Linked DNA regions of Homo sapiens: regions 2, 3, 4, 5, 6 and 7 are each linked to region 1. The links are contacts of gene promoters, found by promoter capture Hi-C in human tissues and cell types (Jung and others, 2019). All regions are on one chromosome and are shown on one strand. The core of a region is centred on a gene start or on the middle of the fragment in contact, and the rest is flanking DNA. Distances in the headings are between cores, read along the strand shown. Region 1 holds the start of ZNF521 (zinc finger protein 521). Region 2 overlaps LINC01894 (long intergenic non-protein coding RNA 1894). Region 3 has its middle 360 kb from the start of SS18. Region 4 overlaps LINC01894 (long intergenic non-protein coding RNA 1894). Region 5 has its middle 13 kb from the start of LINC01894. Region 6 has its middle 310 kb from the start of ZNF521. Region 7 has its middle 45 kb from the start of LINC01894.

Region 1 (2,759 bases), core at 194-2,693:
GCAACAAAAGTTGCTTTATTTCACAGTCATGCAAAGTTAAATTTGACTACAACTATGATTTCACTTTAGGAATTACTGCAGATGGATTGAAAACTCATTTAATTATAATGAAGATATTGAAAAAAAACATACTGTATTTGCAGCTATCCACATGAGGGTCCAGGCAGTTTACAGGTTAGACTGGAAAAAATACAACTTCCTTAAAGCTTTGATGTCTTTGCATGGTGGCTTAATAGATAGCTGTACCTTAATTTTACAGAACGGAGAATTTTTAAAATCTGATTAAGAACAATAGTATTTGTACAAAATTCTGCCTGTTTTGTGTAATTAACCGTATTCTGAATCTCTTAATTTCCACCAAGACTTGTGAATCTAAGCTCTACTTGGTAGCCCTCTCAGGCATTTATAACTTGACAAGCGTGTCCAATCAATAAATAGCAACAACAATAATAATACTAAAACATCCTTTCCCTTAAGATAAGGTAAAAGAAGGAAACAGGTGATGGTTTCTTGTTTTGCGATGGGAGCAGGTGAAAAGTTAGAAAACAAAACTGCGAAAAGAAACAAAAATTCCCACCGACCTGCAGACATTTCAATTTATTTTAGAAACTATTTTCTTGTACACATATTCTTAAGTGCATATTTCCTTACCTCTTGCTTAAAGAAAAAATCAACAGAAAGCTTTATTTTCTGGACAAAGATCTATGTCAATTTGAGAATGTTAAAAAAGTGAACTCAAAGCTGTCTCTTTTGAATCACATTATGACATTCGTCAGCATCAATGACTTTCTCTAAACGAGAAAATAAAAAAAAAGTCCAAATAACTTGCCTTTATAAAGATTCCAAGTAAGAGAGACTTGGCAGGTCTGCGGTTGCCATAAAAAAGATTTCCCGAGTCCGGGCAACAACAGCAGACACACTTTTTTAAAGTCCGACAATGCAAAAGCCAAGCAATGAATTTCCCCCCTCCTTTCTTTTTCTTTTTCTTTTTCTTTTTTTTTTTTTTTTTTTTTGCCCCCTCAAGAACAAATTGTTGCCTCCTTTTACATCCATCCTACCAGAAGGGGGACCTTTCCACTTTCAGATGCTCCTCTGCTTTAATTTCTGAAGAGGAAAAAAAGCGAGCAGAAGAGCCCCGAGATCCGCCGTGGAGCTCTAATAACGCAGCTGCGGCGGCGGCGACGGCGGCGGCGCGGGGTGTGCGAGCGGCCGGGCGGGCGGCGCGAGGGGCGGCGGCGCAGGAGCGGGCGGGGCGCGCGGCGCGTGGGAGGCGGCGGCGGCGGCGGCGGCGGCGGGCGGGGCTCGGGGCGCTCGGCCGCCGCCTGGCTCCGGATCCGCGCGCCGCGGCCGGCGCCTCCAGTCCGGGTCTTGGCGGGCCCCCTCCTCCCTCCCGCTCCCCGCGCTCTCGCCTTTTAATCATGCCCCTCTGTCTGTGTGTGAGTGCAGGCAGGCTGACAATGATTTCCTCAGTGATTACGTACAGAGCGAGTCCCTGCGGGTTAGGGGCCCCCTCTGGAGCCATCCTGATGGCTTTGGGGGCCTTGCTTCCATTTTCCATTATTATGTGGACTACCGGAGCGACAGCGCAGTCCAAGACCTTGCAGGTTTGTGATGAGGAGGGAGCACACAGCACACTCCTTCTCCTCCTCCTGCTCCCGGCTCTCCTCCTCCTCCTCCTCCTGCTCTCGCCGCCGCTGCCGCCGCCGCTGCCGCCGCTGCTGCCGCCGCCGCTGCCGAGGCAGCCGTAGACTTTAGAGCCCCGGTCCAGCGCCAGCCGCCGGCGCCGCGCCCCCGCCCAGAGAGGGGCGCCCCGAGCCCGGGCCCCGCACACCCCCTGCACACAAGCAGCCCCGCACACCACCTGGGGGCCGTCGGCTCGGGTGCTTTGGCTTTTTCTTTTTGAAAGAAATTACTTTAGTGTGGGTTAAGAAAAAAAGGGTGGGGGGAAGGGAGAAAAAAAGTATTTTTTTCCCTTTGCTTATTTTCGTGGCCCGTTCGCATCTGCCTCGGATGGTGGGAGATTTTTCTTTCCAAGACCTTTTCATCGCCTTGCAGGGTCGATTTCCCCCCCTCGTCCCCCCAACTACAAAAGAGCACGACTCGCTTTGTAAACAAATCAGTGTTATTTGTTTTTTTCCGGTGGGGGGGGGGGCGGATTTGTTGAAAAGGAAAAGCGGTAAAGAAAAAAAAAATCACCCAGACGCTTTTCTTTTTATTAGTTTTTTTCTATTCGCATGAACTATGTGAATTTTGATTGAGGTGGAAATAGTAACGGATTTTCTCTTTTTAGTGTAGCTGACGGCTCTTCAAACATTGTCTTTGGGGTTTTTTTTTTAGCTTTTTTTCCCTCCTTTCCTTTTTTCTTTTTCCTTTTTTTTTTTTTTTCTTGGAGATTGGGGGTGGGGGTCGAAGGCTGGGAAAGTTTGGTGCAGCAGCCGCCGCCGCCGCCGCCGCCGTCGTGCAGAGCGCGGAGCTCGGGCAGCCGCGAGCCCCGCGCGCGAGCGCGAGCCGGAGCCGGAGCGAGGAGCGGAGCGCGGAGCGAGGGCGCGAGGGAGGCCGAGCGGAGGGCGCGAGGCGCCGCGGCCCGAGGGGCGCGCGGCCACGAGGAAGTATAGTTTCTTTCAGGGCTGAATTGAAACAACTTCAGCTGTTTGCTTTTAGGATGTCTCGCCGCAAGCAAGCGAAACCGAGATCCCTCAAAGGTAAGGAGGAACCCCCTGCTCCCCGCTTTCCCCCATCCGCGAGTGTCACTGTGGGTA
Region 2 (2,759 bases), core at 173-2,672, 390 kb after region 1:
TCCAATCATTTATTAGAAGAAAATCGCAAATGCTGGAAAGCTGGAAGAAGAAGGAATTCAAAACATATAGATAATATTCATGCAGAACAGTTCACCCATAAATGAAGAATTGAATATTTGTGGGAAATATTTTTTTGCTTCTGTGGAAAAGTGCCCAAATGCAGCTTGTCTTGTTATGGTTAGATGAGTCTTAGCCAAGGATCGGTCTTTGCCAACCATTTAGGACCAATCGAATGCAAATTTATCTGCGATTGAGCAAAACAGAATAAATAAAATAACCAAGCCCATTAGAAGGTACTTTCAAGAGATTGAATCATTAAAGAACAGTGCTGAGTTGACTAAAAAGTAGAGGAAATCATCCAAAATCAGTTTTCACTTAGATAGATGGAAACTAACTAAATAATTTAGCTTACTTGGAGATGACTTCATTAATTTGTTCATTCATTTAAGAAATATATACGTAAGTGTATATTATCTATATTATATATATTTATATTATATATATTATATATACACATAAGTGTATATCTATATTATATTATATTACATATATAATTATCTATTATCTATATTATATTACATATATAATATATAGTCCCAAAACTAAACTGCCTTTGTAAAACTAATTATATGTAATTATATATAATCATATATATAAATATATATTACATAGATTATATATTATATATGTAAAATTATATATATATTATCTATTGAGCACTTCTTATTTAGCCTCCCTTCCAGGCTCTGGGCACACAATGGTAAACAGCTAGACCAAGTTTGCCCTCATGGAGCTTATATCTAGTAGAGGAACTTACTTAATAAGGAAATGCTCAGTGGGTACCTATTAGTAAATGGACTGGATTCCACATGCAGGCTTGTAAAGCATACATCTCTCAGGAGACAGCCTCTCACCTCTCAAGCTGTTGTAGGAGAGAATATTTGTGTAAGAGCATTGCATGTGCTCTGAGCATTTGTGTGGGTGGCAGTGGTGTGCATACAGCAATAAGAAAGATCATATTCAGTCTCTACTTCTCTCTCAGTGGCATACATGGGATCTATTAGGTTGGTGCAAAAGTAATGGCAGAAACCACCATTACTTTTGCACCAACCTATAGACTACTAAGAAATGGGTTTGTAAAGCCATTAAGGCAGCTTTGTCGGTTGGCAAAACGGTTCTGGAGTGTGAGGGGCCCAAAGCACCTTCGCATAAGATTCTTCTCCAAATTCTAGACCTATTAAGAGATGGACACAGCTGGGTCTGGTGGCTTATGCCTGTAACCCCAGCACTTTGGGAGGCCAAGGCAGGCAGACTGATTGAGCTCAGGCATTCGAGACCAGCCTGCAACATGGCGAAATCTCATCTCTACAAAAAAATTAGCCGAGTGTGGAGTCACACACATGTAGTCCCATTTACCTGGGAGGTTGAGGTGGGAGAATCGCTTGAGCCTGGGAGGTCGAGGCTGCAGTGAGCCAAGATCGTGCCACTGCACTTGAGCCTGGTTGACAGAGTGAGATCTTGTCTCAAAAAAAAAAAAAAAAAAAGGGATGGACCAGAAATTAGGCAGATGGAGGGCCACATATGAGCTTTGTCTCTGATAAGGAGATTTTAAAGATTACAGAGTGCTTAGATGTGTGGCCACAATTGGGCTTCCTCACAGTTTCCTCTCTGAACTGAGCTTACCCACCTAGCTGCAGACTATTCCCTGTCACCACCAACGGGTAGAACCCACATAGTGAGCATGGTGCAAGGAGAAACAAAGAATCTCTATATCCTGAGGACAGGCCACTTTGAAAAAAAGAGGAGAGCCAAAAAGAACTGAAACGTGAATACCTAGCCCCTTCTTCCATCTTTAGCCTTTGGTAGACAGATTACATATGTAACAGGAACTCAGGAAAAATAGTCTAACCAAAATGTAGTATTGTTCTCACTGACACATGTTCCAGATGTAGACAGTCCAGAGTTAGCACTGCAGTGCCATCAGACCATAAGGGGTCCTAGTTCCCTTCGCCTTTCTGCTCCATCCTCCTTAATCTGTGTTCCTGTCTTCATGGACACAAGATGGCTGCTCCCCCTCCAGTCATCACATCTAGTCCTAGGCAGGAAAAAGGGGAAGAACCAAAGGCAAAAGCTGAAAAGGGACTTGTCAGTTGAGTTGTCCTCCTTTAGCAAGCTTTACCCCAAGCCCTATCTGGATGACCATTTACATCTCAATAGCCAGAACCAAAGCAAATCTACCCCTGGCTACAAGGAAGCCTAGGGAGGAGAAAATACTTTTTTGGTAACATTGGCACACTCAACAGAATCAGGGCTCTCCTACTAAGGAGGAAGAGGAGAACACATATTATACAAAAGGAGAATGTAACTGCATCTGGATGCCTTAGGGAGAATCCCTGGAAGGCAGAACCTATTTTGCCAGATTTCTGTTTAAGGACTGTACATTTCTTCCAATGGATGGGAAGTCAGAAATGTGAGATAAGCTTTACCCCAACAGATTGTCCCCCAACAGAAATGTGGGATAAGCTGCTCTTGTGACAGTGCTGTCCCTCTCTGGCACCCTATCATTTTGTGCTCCACTCACTCCTGCCCCAAATCCTTTCCTTTCACATTCACTGCCCCTGCCCCATTAGGTGCCTGTGTCTTGCTCCTTCTTCTGTGGCTCCCTTCCAGACAGCACCTCAACCCTGGGGACCTTCCCCACCCTCACTTCTCCCATTACGCTTTCACTTCATCACACCTGACCACATCAAGGCTTATT
Region 3 (2,759 bases), core at 192-2,691, 380 kb before region 1:
GTGCACCAAAATCTCACAAATAACCAGTGAAGAACTTACTCATATCACCAAATACCACCTGTGCCCCAATAACCTATGGAAAAATGAAAGAACTTTAGGATTTGTTGGAGTTCCCATTCCTTGGTCTGTGGTCTGGACTCTGCCTCCCAGTTATAAGCTGGGACAACCATAAGGCTCATCTTGTTTGTATCTTTTTTTTCCTCAGGGATCACAATTTTTCATTGTTTCTGTTCAACGTCTGAAAGTACTTATTTCATATATTTTGTTTCAATTTCTGTTGTTTATGGCAAGATGACAATTCTTGTAGCAATTAATCCTTCATGGAGGGAAGTGAAATTATATGTTACATTTTAAAATCTGTGGCAGATGCAGTTAGTTGTGGAAAAAATAACCTTTTCACTTTCCTCCATCTGTAACAGGACATTGTAACAGAATTCCTAAGAAGAGAGATATCAAATGTGAATGTGAGTTGGAAAACAGATCTCCCTGTCGAATATGGTAAAAAATAAGGCAACCAAAAACTAGTTACAGGACTCTTGAACTTCTCAACCATGTGATGGGTATATAGAAATATACAGCAGAGACTGAGAGAGGTTTTTTAGGAACATGTTTTGAGGGAGTCAGCTAATGCTATGCTGTGATCCCAATTTCACCAGGGTGAACGACAGAGGATATTCCCCTACTCATTTAGCCTGTGAGAGGGGCTTTTGTGATGTATTTTAGAACTTGATATTCATTTCCTGAAATTAAGGGATCTTGTGGGCCACCCAAGAAGTCTAAAGCATAAAAGAAGGGCTTAGTAGCTGTGAATGGATGAGCCAATGGAGAGGTGGCTGTTTGTAAGACCTGTTTTCTCAAAAATTGCCAGGGTACAGATTGCACGGGTACTTTTTATGGGCGGGGACGCTCATGAGGAAATGGAAATGAGGAAGGATTTCAACAATACTGAAATTTTGACTATATCATGGGACTGAGGATTCTAATTACAGGTAATCTGAGTGATGAGAAAAAGCTTCCTTCTCAAGTTTTTAATATGTTTAGGAGCAGAACTAGCACCAGGGAACAAATTCAAGAGATCAGTGGGAGGTAACATACCATTTCTGTTACCAATAGACCATACTTATTCTATACACTTTACCACAGAACCCCAAGTTTGTGAAGACTGTCAATGTACGTAGCCCTAAGGGGTGACTCAACCCCATTTCCCAGACATCCTCTTTTCCAGACTGCCTTCAAGATTGAGAGAGGTAGGGAGCAAGACTCAGGTCTGAACAATGAGAAGTAAAGATAAGTCTGCTTTGAAATTACTGGAAAATGATTGCTTCCTGATGAAAGAGGAAAATTTACCTCTTGCCTTTTTTCCTGCTTAGAATGTGATTGTGTTTAGAGCAGTGGCAGCCATTTTGAGACCCTGGGGCAACAGGCCTAAGGACAAAAGTTAGCATGCTGAGGCTGGCGGGCGATTGCAAGGTTGAATTCTTGGCACAGGAGTGGATTGGGCCTGGTAAATTCAACTGCCTTATGCAGAAGAGGGTTCAGAACAAATCTGAAGTCTCATGCTCAGTGACAGCAGCAGTGACGCTTTTTCTCCTGTTAGACCAGTTCAAGGCTTTGGGGTATGTTTCCTGGAAACTTCCCCACAAGCTCATTTTCTTTTCTTTCTTTCTTTCTTTTTTTTTTTGTTTGTTTTGTTTTGTTTTTTGAGATGGAGTCTTGCTCTGTCACCCAGGCTGGAGTGCAATCTTGGCTCACTGCAACCTCTGCCTCCTGGGTTCAAGCGATTCTCCTGTCTCAGCCTCTTGAGTAGCTGGCATTACAGACGCACAACACCCCGCCTGACTAATTGTTTTGTATTTTAGTAGAGACGGGGTTTCACCTTGTTGCCCAGTCTGGTCTCAAACTCCTGAGCTCCGGCAATCCACCCGCCTCGGGCTCCCAAAGTGCTAGGATTATAGGCGTAAGCCACCTCGCCTGGCAACTCATTTTCTACCTCTTTACCATTCTGTGAGCTACCCAGTATCCTGACAATAATGTTATTTTCTAATTGATCAGTAAGAGTCAACTTCTTTCCCTTGCAATTAAGAATCCTGACTGATGCAAAGCATGTAGAATTTCTCATAGTTTGGCCATTTGGGTCAGAAGTCAAGTGTTCTACCTGTGTTAAGAAGTCCTGTGACTCAGGACCAGAAACCTGGCTCACCTTCCTGGTGTGTAGGGGGTTAAGATGGCATACTAAATCAGCACAAGCAATAGTGTCAGGGAAGCCATCTTTTTAAGAAGTCTAAAGAGACAAGAAGTGATAAATGGCTCTTCTTCTTACTGTTTGGCTAATTTTGACTTTGTACCACTTACACATAGCTGTTGCCGTGGCCTCAAGTTCTAAATAAAGTGTTCTGTATGGCCAAAGCTATTTCCTCTTTCCCAGAGTAGCACATTGCACTGTGGAAGATAATCTTGCACGTTTGTATGGTAATAGGATTAACGTGGCCCTTGTGGTATTTGCCCACCTAGCAACTGTGACTTTGCCATACTTGTGAATTATACTTTTGCTTGTGAGTTTCTTTGTAAATCTTCCTTCTTAACAAGGTAGTAGAAATAGCTTAAGTGTCCTGACATTTGTGAGTGTGGAGCCCAGAGATGCTTTCTTGGAAGTTGGCCAGAAGTCAGATCATCACTGTCCGGGATGGTTGATGAGTGGCAGGGTTCAGATGGCCATGTGGTGGAGGATGAGAACAGGAAGGCCAGCACCAATGCACGCA
Region 4 (2,759 bases), core at 174-2,673, 370 kb after region 1:
CATCCCTGTGTCGATGATGGGCATGGTGGCAGGATTTAGACTTTGTGTTACCAGGTCAGAATTACTGAGAGCAGAACTGTCTTCAAGGTTTCTGAGTCTATCTCAGCTTTAAATATCAGATCATGAGCACATGCATAGATTTAGAACTGACTGTTTTTAGGAGATTAGGACTTCTACCCATATGTTCCAGGGCCTGGGGTTGGGAATCCAGGTAACGACTATCTAGGGACCACAGTAGGCAAAAATGTCTGGGGTAAAGTAGTTGGCAGTCGTGGTCTTACAGTGATCCAGTCATCTCTCAGACCAGTGAGCATGGAAGACCGAGTTATTGCTTGGCAGACCTTGGATGGAAGTGGCTACCAAGAGATCAGGAGCTACTCAAGGGCAGGTGCCATGCTTTCCCCAAGGAACAAACACCAGTCCCAGTATACACTGTAAAGGTGTGTGCAGAACAGGGAGTGGGTTTTTAACATCAATTATACTTCAGAAAGGATGCAAATATATGCCCCTCTTGGGAATTCACAAGCCATATTCACTTATTGAAGTCTATGAGAAATCCTTCTGAAATAAAACCAAACTTCTTATGTTTATTTGGTCAAAGAACTTCCTCCTCCCTACCCCTTCATAACACCTCTTAGGTGCTCACAGAATTCTTCAGGAAGGGCTGACTTATTCATCTCTCTGTTTCTAGTGCCTGTCACCATGACCAGCACCGAGAAAGTGGCAATATGATCTGTTCCTTTATCCCACACATACGGATTGGGCCCCAGGCAATGTTCCAGGTCCTGGGGATATAGAAGTAAACTAAATAGATAGTTCCTGTCTAGTGAATCTGATGTTCTAGTCTGTTCCCTGTAATCTCAGTTTGATCAATGAGGTTCAACATCAACCCAATCCCTTAAAGTCCCTTTAAGTGAACTCGAGCCAGCCCAAGCCAAGCAGGTGAACTGCTGGTGGACATGACCCAGCAAAGGAGTCCCCAGCCACTCCTACAGGGTACTTCAGGCAGCAGACGACCCCGCTGCTAGGTGGCTTATGGGGATCCTGGGCATCATTGCATTCAACTGCATGAGCCCCCACAGCCTGCTGGTGTCTCTTCTGCTTTGCAGGGCGTCATGCTTTTGTCTGTCAATCCCAGCCCTGTGGCTGCCACAGCATGTGAATCTGAAGGAAAATCACTCATTTTCACTTTTTCTCAGTTTCCTAACATATAGCAAATAGGGATGATTAATAATATTCATCTCCCATTTCATATCCCCTTTGGGAGATAGCAACCTCTCTGTAACACATAATATAGTGCCTGGGCCCTCTGGGCATTCAAGACTATTTAAATTATTTCGTAAAAGCAAATTTCATTCCTTTTATTTCCTCCTTTTCAGCCTCTATATGTATTTTTTTTCCATAGGCAATGTTTCTCTTCTGGTTTTTGTTTTGTTTTCTGAGGGCAACGGCTGATGAAAGGAAACAATCACCCCATCCTCTGTGAAGCTGAAAATCCCCCAGTTTCTCCTTTGGTGCCCAGCGATACCACTGAGTGTCAGCATGCGTCTGTCTCCTTCACTCATTTTCCAAGGACCCTCTCCATGTTTTTAGTAATTGATTAGGGGCCCTGCAGAGGTCTCCTGCACCCCCTGTGGTCTGTTTCATTTGTGATGACCACACCTCCCTCACAACCCACTGAGATGTCAAAAGCTGCTATTCAGAGGCTGGCTGATCCATTGAAGTAGGTTTTGGCTGGGAAAAGTCCCCCTCACCTCTTCTCCCCGCCCCTCCCCACTGTCTGGATCTTCCTGAGGTCCTCTGGATCACCAGGAGCTTGGCAAGCAGGGAGCTCAAACTCAAAAGTGCTGGAACCACGGTGCAGGGTTTGTCTGGGCTCCCAGCCTCCTCACCCAGCACATGGAACCTTGCTGGGAAATATTCAGCATGTGCCTGTTACAGATTAGTTCTTCTCTTCCTCATGCTCCTTTTTTTGCCACACTGTTTAGGGATGGAGGTTCTCCTCAGCCTCTGGAATAAAGCCTATTTGCTTAGTATAATTCTACCCTCTCCTGGCTTTATGCTGGGTCCAATCACAGATTTTAATCAATAGCCACAAGTACCAGACTTTCTTATCTCTTCATTACTACTACATATCAGAACCCTATTTGCTTGTGTTCTTGAGAAAGACAGAGAAAGCGAGAAAGAGAGAGAGAGAAAGCGAGAGAGAGAGAGTATACTGACTCTGAGATCTTGAGAAACTAGCCCAATTAGAAGCTACCATAAATGGACTCTTAGGAGAAAGTTGTGCCTCTAAAAGTTCTAAGTAAGCTCTTCAAAGATGCCAGACAATCAGCAAATGTGTGATGACACAAATGAGTATGTGTAAAGCTGGTGAGACCTGCAATTGACATTGGGACAATGTCCTGGTCCTACTATAGTTACACAAGATGTTACCATTAGGGGAACCTGGGTGAACGGTCTATAGGACCGTTCTATATTATCATTGCCATTTCCTGCCAATCTATAATTACTTCAAAATAAATAGTTTTAAATATTGCATGGCGAGACTAAGCAAACATTTTGCTCCAGAAAAGTAGTTTAAAATTTGGGTGCTATTTATAGATCCTGCCCACTTTTTAATGACGATAAGACTACAGCACCCAAGCTTTTCTCAATAGACAACTTACTGCAGACCCACTAAGGTGGCAGGCACTGAGGATGTATATTTAGCATGGTTTTCACACATGTTGCTGAGAGTGGACATTGGATGAATGATT
Region 5 (2,759 bases), core at 131-2,630, 350 kb after region 1:
AGAAGAATCAAAGCCAGAACTGACATTAAAAACTAGAATCCATAGAGAACTATCCTGGGAAAATAATCAGTCAGAATGAAGAAAGAGAGACAAAGGAAACAAAAAGATCAGTGTGAAGATAATAGCTATGGAAATCAAACAATGAAGATTCAGCACATAGTTTGTGTGCCTACAGAAGTTAGAAATGATAAACAAACACAAAAAGAGGAATATACAGGTGGCGAAGGCTCACTGTAGCCAAATGGAAAGAATTTGTCAAACCCAAAGTGTCTCTGAGCAAATGTACAGAACTTTAAGGACGAAAAGAAAAATAATCCTTTAAGTCAGAATAGCACTGCTTAAGACTACAGTCAGATTACCTGGGTACAAGCTGCATTGCTGTGATATTAAGCAGGTAGTATGTAACTTACAAGATTATAATGAAGATGAAATACAAAAATGTTTGCAAACGTACTTAGCCTGTTATTTGGCACATAATAAGTACTTGGTAAATGCCATCTATTGTCACAAACATCCAGCCAGAGAAAATATGTAACCAACAATGGGAATCATCAGGCTAGTCCAGGATTCACATTAGCAGTATAGGAGAATTTTAAAAGGAAAGCTGTGGCCAAATATCCCATAAACCGTCAGGTTGTTATTCTTGTAAAGGCAAAAGAAAGGCATACTCACAAAAGCAAGAATTTGGGAAGTATATTACCAATGAACAATTCCTGGAAAAGGTCATTTGCACAAGTTTTCTAGCAATGAGAAAGATGAATAAAAAAGAATAGGAAGTTATGGTATAAAAGGACTGTGCATGTGGATTACTTAATTAATTTGTTCTTAACCCCTAGGAGATTCTGAGGAAGACATGGACCTTCTCAGAAGAAAGTGCACTCCAGATACCTGAAAATGTACATTCTACTTGGTGTTATTCAGAAATCTATGGAAATCAATCCATGGCCTACTTTGGAATCCATAGATCACAAATCCCATTTTAAACACAAATCTAAGTTTAAATAACTATGTTCATTGTGATTATAAAACAAAAATTAAATCTTAAATTTTTGATGGAATACATATATAATAAAAATAATATTTTAAATACAATAGATATGGACAAAACCTTCAAGGAAAGCAATACACCTAAATACACACGTGCACACACATACCAGGAAGCAAGGGGGTGAGTGGCAGGAAAAAAATGCATATTTTTTCTCATTTGTTCAGGGAATAGATTAAAAGATATGGCAATGTTTGGTAGGTTTAAGCAAGTATATAAAGATATAAAAGTAACATTTAGAAAAATTGGAGAAAAAGAATACATTCTAATGGTGAGAAAAAATAAATACAGAATATTACAGATAGATTAATTAAACACGGTAACATTTTAATAATCAGTGTATCTAGGCAGTGAGTATATGGCTGTTCGTTGCATATCATTCTGTCAACTTTTCTATATATTAAATTTTTTTCACAATAAAACCATGTGTGATGAGAAAAAGAAGCAAACTATGCAGTAAAGGCTAAAGAAGAAAAATCATAAAAGCTATTCTAGAATTGCTCTAATAAAATTTAAAAACAAATCTCAAACGGAGTAAGCTGAGTAATGTAGCTGTTTCCCTCTCACAATTCAAATACTCCTTAAAATAAAACCAGTAAGTCCAAATTACTCAGAAACATAATACTCATAAGGTGTGGCATCTAATCATCTAATCAAAAATTATAAGATAGAGATGAAGCAGGAAACTGTGACCCATAATGAAGAGAAAAAATTCAATCATAGAAACGGGTATAGAAATAACAGAGCTGGTGAAATTATCAGAAAATGATGTTTAAAACCACAAGTGTAAATATGTTCAAGGATTTAAAGGAAAACATGAAGAAATAAATAGAACATATGGAAAAAACAAAATAAAAATTCTAGAAATTAAGAAATACAACATATGAAAAGAAAGTGTTACTGGAATGAAACTTACCTCAAATTATATGCTACATAATAACATATCAACGGATTTGAAAACACAGCAATGGAAATTATGCAAAATGAAATGTAGAGACGAAAAGACTGAAAAACTTGAATAAAGACTCCGTGACCTGTAGGACAGTATCAAGTAGCATAACATACATGTAATTGGGATCCCAGAAGAAAAGAAATGAGAAAAGGACAGAAAATATATTTGAAAAAATGATGGCTAATCAAGAGCATCAGTGAACAACTACAGATAATATATTTAATGGAGAAGATCAAATATTTTCCTCCTAATGTTAAGAACACAGCAAAAAATCTGTTCTTACCCCATCTATTTTACATTGTACTGAGATCCTAGCCAGAGCAATAAGGCAAGAAAAAGAAAAGTAGAACTGTGTGAAGTTCTTTGAGATGTATCCCAGCAGTGAGATTGCTGGTTCATGGGGTTTACATACACATATTTTGACCAAATGTTAACAGAATGTTCTCCAAAATGTCTGCATTAGTCTCTACTACCCCCTATTGTGGTGGAAGCTTGCCCTATCACCATACACCTGCCAGCACCTGGCATTGTCCAGTCTTCCAATTTGTCCCAATGTGAGTGTGTAACGTCTATCACTGCCATTTAAATTTGCAGTTATCAAAATATACTACATTTGAGCATATCTTCATTTACTAGTCGCCTTTTAAGGTTCATTTTCTAGAAATTTCTTAGTCAATCTAACCCTTTCTCTATTGTGTTCCTGTCTTTTTCCTGTTGGTTTTTCAAGATCTCTTTTCTTGATTCAAGGCCCTTGGTTGTTTT
Region 6 (2,759 bases), core at 148-2,647, 310 kb before region 1:
TTCTGAATTTATTGATCTTTTACAAGCTGAATCATCTAGCCTAGGCTTTTATTCTAAATACATGATCTTCTCTCTCCCCTACAAAAAATCTACTCTACGTGTATCTCTTCCTCTGGAACTGATGCATATTACTATTTATTGAGCATTTCTTGTGTATCAGGCCTATGCTTAAGGAACAATTGTAAGAGACTTTACATATTGTATCTCTTTGAATTCCAGCAAGAGAAGTAGCTGGGAGGACAGAGTGCTATTACTCCTACTTTACAGATGGGGACCTGAACCTGGTGGGTGATGTGTTTGTCCTCTCTTAGCTGTTAGTGAGTGGTGCGCTGGGCTGTAAGTCAGGTCTCATCCCAGGACACAAGCCCTCAATGGCTGTGTTCTGTAGTCCCACTGACAGCAACCATCAGGATGGAAGGAGGGCAGCCTCCCCCTTTCCATGGCCTCCATTTTTAGCAACTCCCTTTTCTCATAAAGGAGTTTAACTCTCATTTCCTATTGCAGTGTAGCTGGCATTTTCTCTCTTTACACCACTTTGTCAAGACTATTCCATCTGTTCTTCCCATTCTGTGGGAAGGAGAGCTGTCTGGCAGTCGACCTTAGGTGCAGATGCAGGCAGGCAGGTGAGTGGGCATGTGGCATGTGGCCCAAGGAGGCTGTCACTAGGCAGCAGGAAGCCACAGGACTGGTGAGTGGGCAAATCTCCAAATGGACTCAGGGGCACAAGGACCTATTCCTAAGGGACCTGGGGCATCTAAGTGGGAACTAAAGCAGGAAATCAGGCATTGGAGAAAGTATTGGTCTCATTTCCGGAACTGGGGTAGATGATGTCCTGTACACAAAGAACAAGACAAAGCCCAGGACCAGTGTCCAAGCTCAGGCTGACTCGAGATGGAGCTAGTCCTTGGGATTTGTCCCAGAGTTAGTGGCAGGTGAAACTATACTGATCTAGGTATGAAGACATAAGGCCTTGGAAAGGGGTACTGGGAAGGGAGAATTCGGTTTAGATCTAAGAGGTGTTATATAAAGGAAGTTGGACAGTAGGCAGTGATTAAGAATGCCTTGAATCGTTCCCCCAAATCCTTCTCAGATGGTTTTGAAAATATGTTAAAGGTGGTGATTTGAATCAACCCATGTTCTTGTTTGGGGTCCATGCAATGTGTTAATTACCTAGGTTGCTTCTGAAGAGTGGTACTGCATTAACAGGTTAAATAATAACAAGTAGCTTGGATGCCTATTTGCAGAAAACATTTTTTCTTGTTGTGGTAGGAATCACTTTTCCAGTAGTAGTGAAAATTTGCATGTTTCTTATGATGCCCCTGTGGCCAAGTGATGGCTGGAGTGAGAAGTTTAGTCTGTGACAGTGAGACAAAAACCTTTCCTGATCCAATCATCTAGATAAGAACTTTTTTCTACTCTGATTTGGCCCAGTACTTTGTTTCTCTAACACGGCGAAAGTAAGCAGCAAACATCCGCAGAAAATGGTTGCTGATGGGCACGGCCCACATCTCCTTTAACAGGCTGTGGCAGTCATCTCCTAAGTTGCTACAAAGTTGGCTGTTAGGGACATTGAGCTCACTGCCCATGAAGCCTGTGGCCTGCAGCCATAAGCTGCCTGGAACCGGAGTACAAAGGGGACTGATTTTGTAGTACAAGTCCTGCTCCTGCTCCTGCTCCTTTTCCAGAGTTCCCTGTGGGATCAGACTACCTCACGCCCTTTCACCAAAGACCTCTCCCACCACTGATGAACCACAAGCACTCCAAGCCCTGTATCAAATGCTGCTGTGACAGAAGACATACAGATGTGGAAGATAAATGTGGTATATATGGGACAGTTGTTTGTTAACCTCTCTGGTGACCAAGCCATTTCCAAGTTGGTGCCAAAGTCACACAAACCTGACTTTAAGCCACTGTGATTTGATCTGAGGCATCAGTGGGTCCCTTCAAAAGGGCGGGTTGAAATGTGTTCACTTTCTGAACTCTCTTCCCTTGTGGACGTCACAATGTTAGAACATCAATAGGGATAATCATAATTGTTACATTTGATTTGATTTACTAAAACTGCTCAAAGCTGAATATAGACATTTAGCTATAATTCAGGAAAGTTACAAATTCAGGATTGTTGCTGTTCATGAGACATTTTTAAACCAAATTTTCAATGCAATGTGGTACAATAAATAAAGTTCAATATCAAAAAAAAAAAAGAAATTTGTTTACTTTCTATTTCATGAGTGAGGTTTTGAACAGACTTGATAAATAGCAAGAGGAGGAATTACCAGGAAGGCCAATAATAAGATGATAAGAATAATAGTTACCATTATTGAATACCTAATGTGATGGGTGCCAGGCAGTGTGCTACACGATCTATCTTCATAATCCTGTTTGCCTCTAAAATCACCCTGCTAGGGGATTGGGGAAGGGACTACAGCTGCCCACTCAGATGCCCAGCTGCTTCCATGGTCATGGACCTGGAGCGGGGCAACACCTCCCAGCTGGGTGGGACCCCACTGTGAAGTCCCTTTCCTCTTTCTGCCTGCTGCAACAAGGCTTAAACCAGGCAGACAAAGATAATGCTCTAAGTGAATCATGAAGAAATGTGCTGGGGAAAGCCTCACTGTCCAAAACAGGGGGGTAGCCAAGCTGACTTCCATTGTGGGTTACCCACGAAATGAGGACATTTCTATCTGGTTTGGACCATTGTGTTTTGGGGATCTCTTCATGACAGCAGTTTGTTCTTACTCTCTAACTAATATAGTAAA
Region 7 (2,759 bases), core at 144-2,643, 320 kb after region 1:
AAATCACTAAAAAAAGAAAAACCAACAATCACTATGGAATGTAAAGAAATTACCTTGGGTACATCTTTAAGGGTATAGAAAGGGAGTCAAGGAATTGTTAGACCTCACTTTGTCTCTAACGTCCAGGACTGGGTTAGGGATCCTGTCCAGGCTTGCCCGTGGTGCCCTGTGCTTCATTCCTGGTAACTCAGAAGCCTATTTGCCCAACTCTTCACTATCCTGAAGCCAGTGAATGGATAATTTGATGCAACAGCACAGGTTTAATAGCAGGTTGAAAGCATCTAAAAGAAACAGTAAGTGCAAAGTGATACCATCTGGTAGCTTATCCATGAGCACAAATCATCTCAGTTTTCAGAATTCACAGGAATAAGAGTACCTACTCTGTGCCAGAAACGTCCCAATTATTATTTAATCCTCACAACAACTGTAGAAGGATGGATTCTAATCTCCATTTACCAACAAGGAGACTGATGGTCAGCGTGGCCTCATCAATGTTTACAGAGGTAAGATTTAAAACCAGCTGTCTCCAGGCTGTGTTTCTCCCCTCCATGTTGTGGTTCTCTCTCTCTCCCCCCCCCCCCTCTCTCCCTCTCTCTCTCTCTCCCTCTCCCTCTCTCTCTCTCTCTCTCTCTCTCTCCCCCCCCTCTCTCCCTCTCCCCCCCTCTCTCTCTCCCTCTCTCTCTCTCCCTCTCTCTCTCTCCCTCTCTCTCTCTCCCTCTCCCTCTCTCTCTCTCTCCCCCCTCTCTCTCTCTCCCTCTCCCTCTCTCTCTCTCTCTCCCTCTCTCTCTCTCTCCCTCTCTCTCTCTCCCTCTCTCTCTCTCCCTCTCTCTCTCTCTCCCTCTCTCTCTCTCTCTCTCCCTCTCTCTCTCTCTCTCTCCCTCTCTCCCTCTCTCTCTCTCTCCCTCTCTCTCTCTCCCTCTCTCCCTCTCTCTCTCTCCCTGTCTCTCTTTGCTCTGTTACCCAGGCTGGAGTGCAGTGGCGCCATCTCAGCTCACTGCAACCTCTGCCTCCCGGGTTCAAGCAATTCTCATGCCTCAGTCCCCCGAGGAGCTCAGATTACAGGTGTGTGCCGCCACAGCTAATTTTTGTATTTTTAGTAGAGACAGAATTTCTTCATGTTGGCTGGGCTGCTCTTGAACTCCTGCCCAAAGTGCTGGGATTACAGGCATGAGCCACCGTGCCTGGCCGATGCTGTTTTCTTGAGAATGTACCTGCTGCTTCCCCTCCCTTCTCCTCTTCTTATCAGTCTCCTCTTCTGCCTCCTTCTTCATTTTAATTTTTGGTCTATTGGACATACTGCCTTTTATGAAAAGAGTATATGTCTCATAGGGATATCTTTAAATGATAGGTAAATATAGAACAGTCACACTCTTCATGTGAGGGGCTGATAGCCTAGCCATATAGATATTTTTATCTTATTCTTTAAATAAATTTGGTACTGGGTGGAAATAAGACAAAGAAAGAAGAAAATCTACCGCAGGAAATATGTAATCCCCAGGCAAAACCAACAATTCAAGGGGACTGTCTGGGGGTAGTTTATTCTGCAAATTGGTGCATTTCTCAGAGTTTCTGGGGAAGAGAAATAAAAGGTGTTATATTACCTAACTCCTTTCTGCAGTTTTGACTGGACAGATTTCCTTACTTCCTGCCTGAAATGGTTATGAGGTGTTGGCATGAAGAATGAGAGATCTATGATGTCTCCCATGCGAGGGCTGGGTGCTGCAGGGAGAGGCCAGAGGCTTTGCTCTGGGCTCCTGTAGCACTTGTCATTGTTAAAACATTCATGGATGAAAGGCTACCGTGCGTATAAATTATTATTATTATTGCAGTAACCGAGAGTGTATCATTACATCTACAGGGTGTCTGAAAGCCCTGAGAAACTGGAATTTGTGGTGAAAAGTGGCTTGCCAGAGTTTGAAAGCCTGTGAGGGACTTGGGGATCATCTGATGGAGACACTGGACAACCTTGCAGCTTGTGGCAGGTGCAGGAGTGTGTGTGTACGTGTGTGTACACATGCATACCTGCGTGTGCGCATATGTCTGTGTACATGCATACGTGTGTGTGTATGTGTGTGTGTGCATATATGTGAGTTCCTAAGACTAAATGGTACAGAGCATGAGGTCAGAATTGTGGAGAGGAAGATACAAATGGACTAACAGCATCCCTACCTCTTGAAATGCTCTGCTCTGGGCATTTAGGAAAAACGTAGTGGTCCAGGGGAGGGATTGTTAGATGGGCTTTTTGGGCTTAAAATCTTCAGTAGAAAAGTCAGTACATTGTCTAGCTATTTCAAAAGGAACAAAATAAACACTTCGCCACTAATCCCTCATACAAAGTCAAAGATAGGCTACTTTTGGCCTGAATCTATGCAAATGTTTTCTTTCAGACTTCCCTTCCACCCTGAGAAGGGAAGAGCTTGCAAGAAACCATGAAATGTCTGTGTTTTGTGTGTGATTTCAACCAAGAAGTGAGACCACTGTTGAAAGTCTTATTTAAATATAACCAATGTTGACAAATTTTGGTTACATATAGCCACGTGTCCCACTTTAATTATCTCCCCAAAGCAATCAAATAGAAAGCTCCTTTCAAGCCGATGAAAAAAGTGAACTAGGGTTGGTTTGGGATGAATTTATTGTCCTCTGCCTGCACATTGCCACGTAGGGTGCCCACTCTTTTCCCAAGGGCACAGAATGTTGGGAGAAGAGCCCAGGCCTTTCATCTCACTTCCTGACTTAGAAGAAATGGTACTAATAGGTGT

What was found. The method cuts DNA at HindIII sites, captures the fragments that hold promoters and counts their contacts. A contact is called where the count stands out against the background at its distance.
Region 2: a fragment that was not itself captured here is called in contact with the fragment with the promoter of ZNF521 in region 1 in 3 of the 25 tissues and cell types used here (H1 embryonic stem cells, mesendoderm cells and stomach).
Region 3: a contact is called between a fragment that was not itself captured here and the fragment with the promoter of ZNF521 in region 1, in 2 of the 25 tissues and cell types used here (H1 embryonic stem cells and mesenchymal stem cells).
Region 4: a fragment that was not itself captured here is called in contact with the fragment with the promoter of ZNF521 in region 1 in 1 of the 25 tissues and cell types used here (small bowel).
Region 5: a fragment that was not itself captured here is called in contact with the fragment with the promoter of ZNF521 in region 1 in 2 of the 25 tissues and cell types used here (H1 embryonic stem cells and lymphoblastoid cells).
Region 6: a fragment that was not itself captured here is called in contact with the fragment with the promoter of ZNF521 in region 1 in 3 of the 25 tissues and cell types used here (lymphoblastoid cells, mesenchymal stem cells and mesendoderm cells).
Region 7: a contact is called between a fragment that was not itself captured here and the fragment with the promoter of ZNF521 in region 1, in 1 of the 25 tissues and cell types used here (IMR-90 fibroblasts).

The regions. Positions count from the first base shown.
Region 1 is chr18:25,350,850-25,353,608 of GRCh38, reverse strand. It overlaps ZNF521 (zinc finger protein 521), which reads left to right and starts at 1,443. Exons shown (of 8, transcript NM_015461.3): 1 at 1,443-1,604; 2 at 2,662-2,702. The coding sequence starts at 2,663. RefSeq lists a silencer at 1,348-1,417. The HindIII fragment of the contact is 6,455 bases long and covers 445-2,759 here.
Region 2 is chr18:24,961,081-24,963,839 of GRCh38, reverse strand. The region is part of intron 1 of LINC01894 (long intergenic non-protein coding RNA 1894); the gene reads left to right. Among named protein-coding and RNA genes, the nearest start is that of LINC01894, 26 kb to the left of the region's middle. The HindIII fragment of the contact is 4,376 bases long and covers 1-2,759 here.
Region 3 is chr18:25,727,688-25,730,446 of GRCh38, reverse strand. No RefSeq gene overlaps it. Among named protein-coding and RNA genes, the nearest start is that of SS18, 360 kb to the left of the region's middle. The HindIII fragment of the contact is 5,767 bases long and covers 1-2,759 here.
Region 4 is chr18:24,978,339-24,981,097 of GRCh38, reverse strand. All of the region lies in intron 1 of LINC01894 (long intergenic non-protein coding RNA 1894), which reads left to right. Among named protein-coding and RNA genes, the nearest start is that of LINC01894, 8.3 kb to the left of the region's middle. RefSeq lists an enhancer at 1,389-1,946. The HindIII fragment of the contact is 5,645 bases long and covers 1-2,759 here.
Region 5 is chr18:24,999,377-25,002,135 of GRCh38, reverse strand. No RefSeq gene overlaps it. Among named protein-coding and RNA genes, the nearest start is that of LINC01894, 13 kb to the right of the region's middle. The HindIII fragment of the contact is 4,541 bases long and covers 1-2,759 here.
Region 6 is chr18:25,665,450-25,668,208 of GRCh38, reverse strand. No RefSeq gene overlaps it. Among named protein-coding and RNA genes, the nearest start is that of ZNF521, 310 kb to the right of the region's middle. The HindIII fragment of the contact is 7,189 bases long and covers 1-2,759 here.
Region 7 is chr18:25,031,686-25,034,444 of GRCh38, reverse strand. No RefSeq gene overlaps it. Among named protein-coding and RNA genes, the nearest start is that of LINC01894, 45 kb to the right of the region's middle. The HindIII fragment of the contact is 4,825 bases long and covers 1-2,759 here.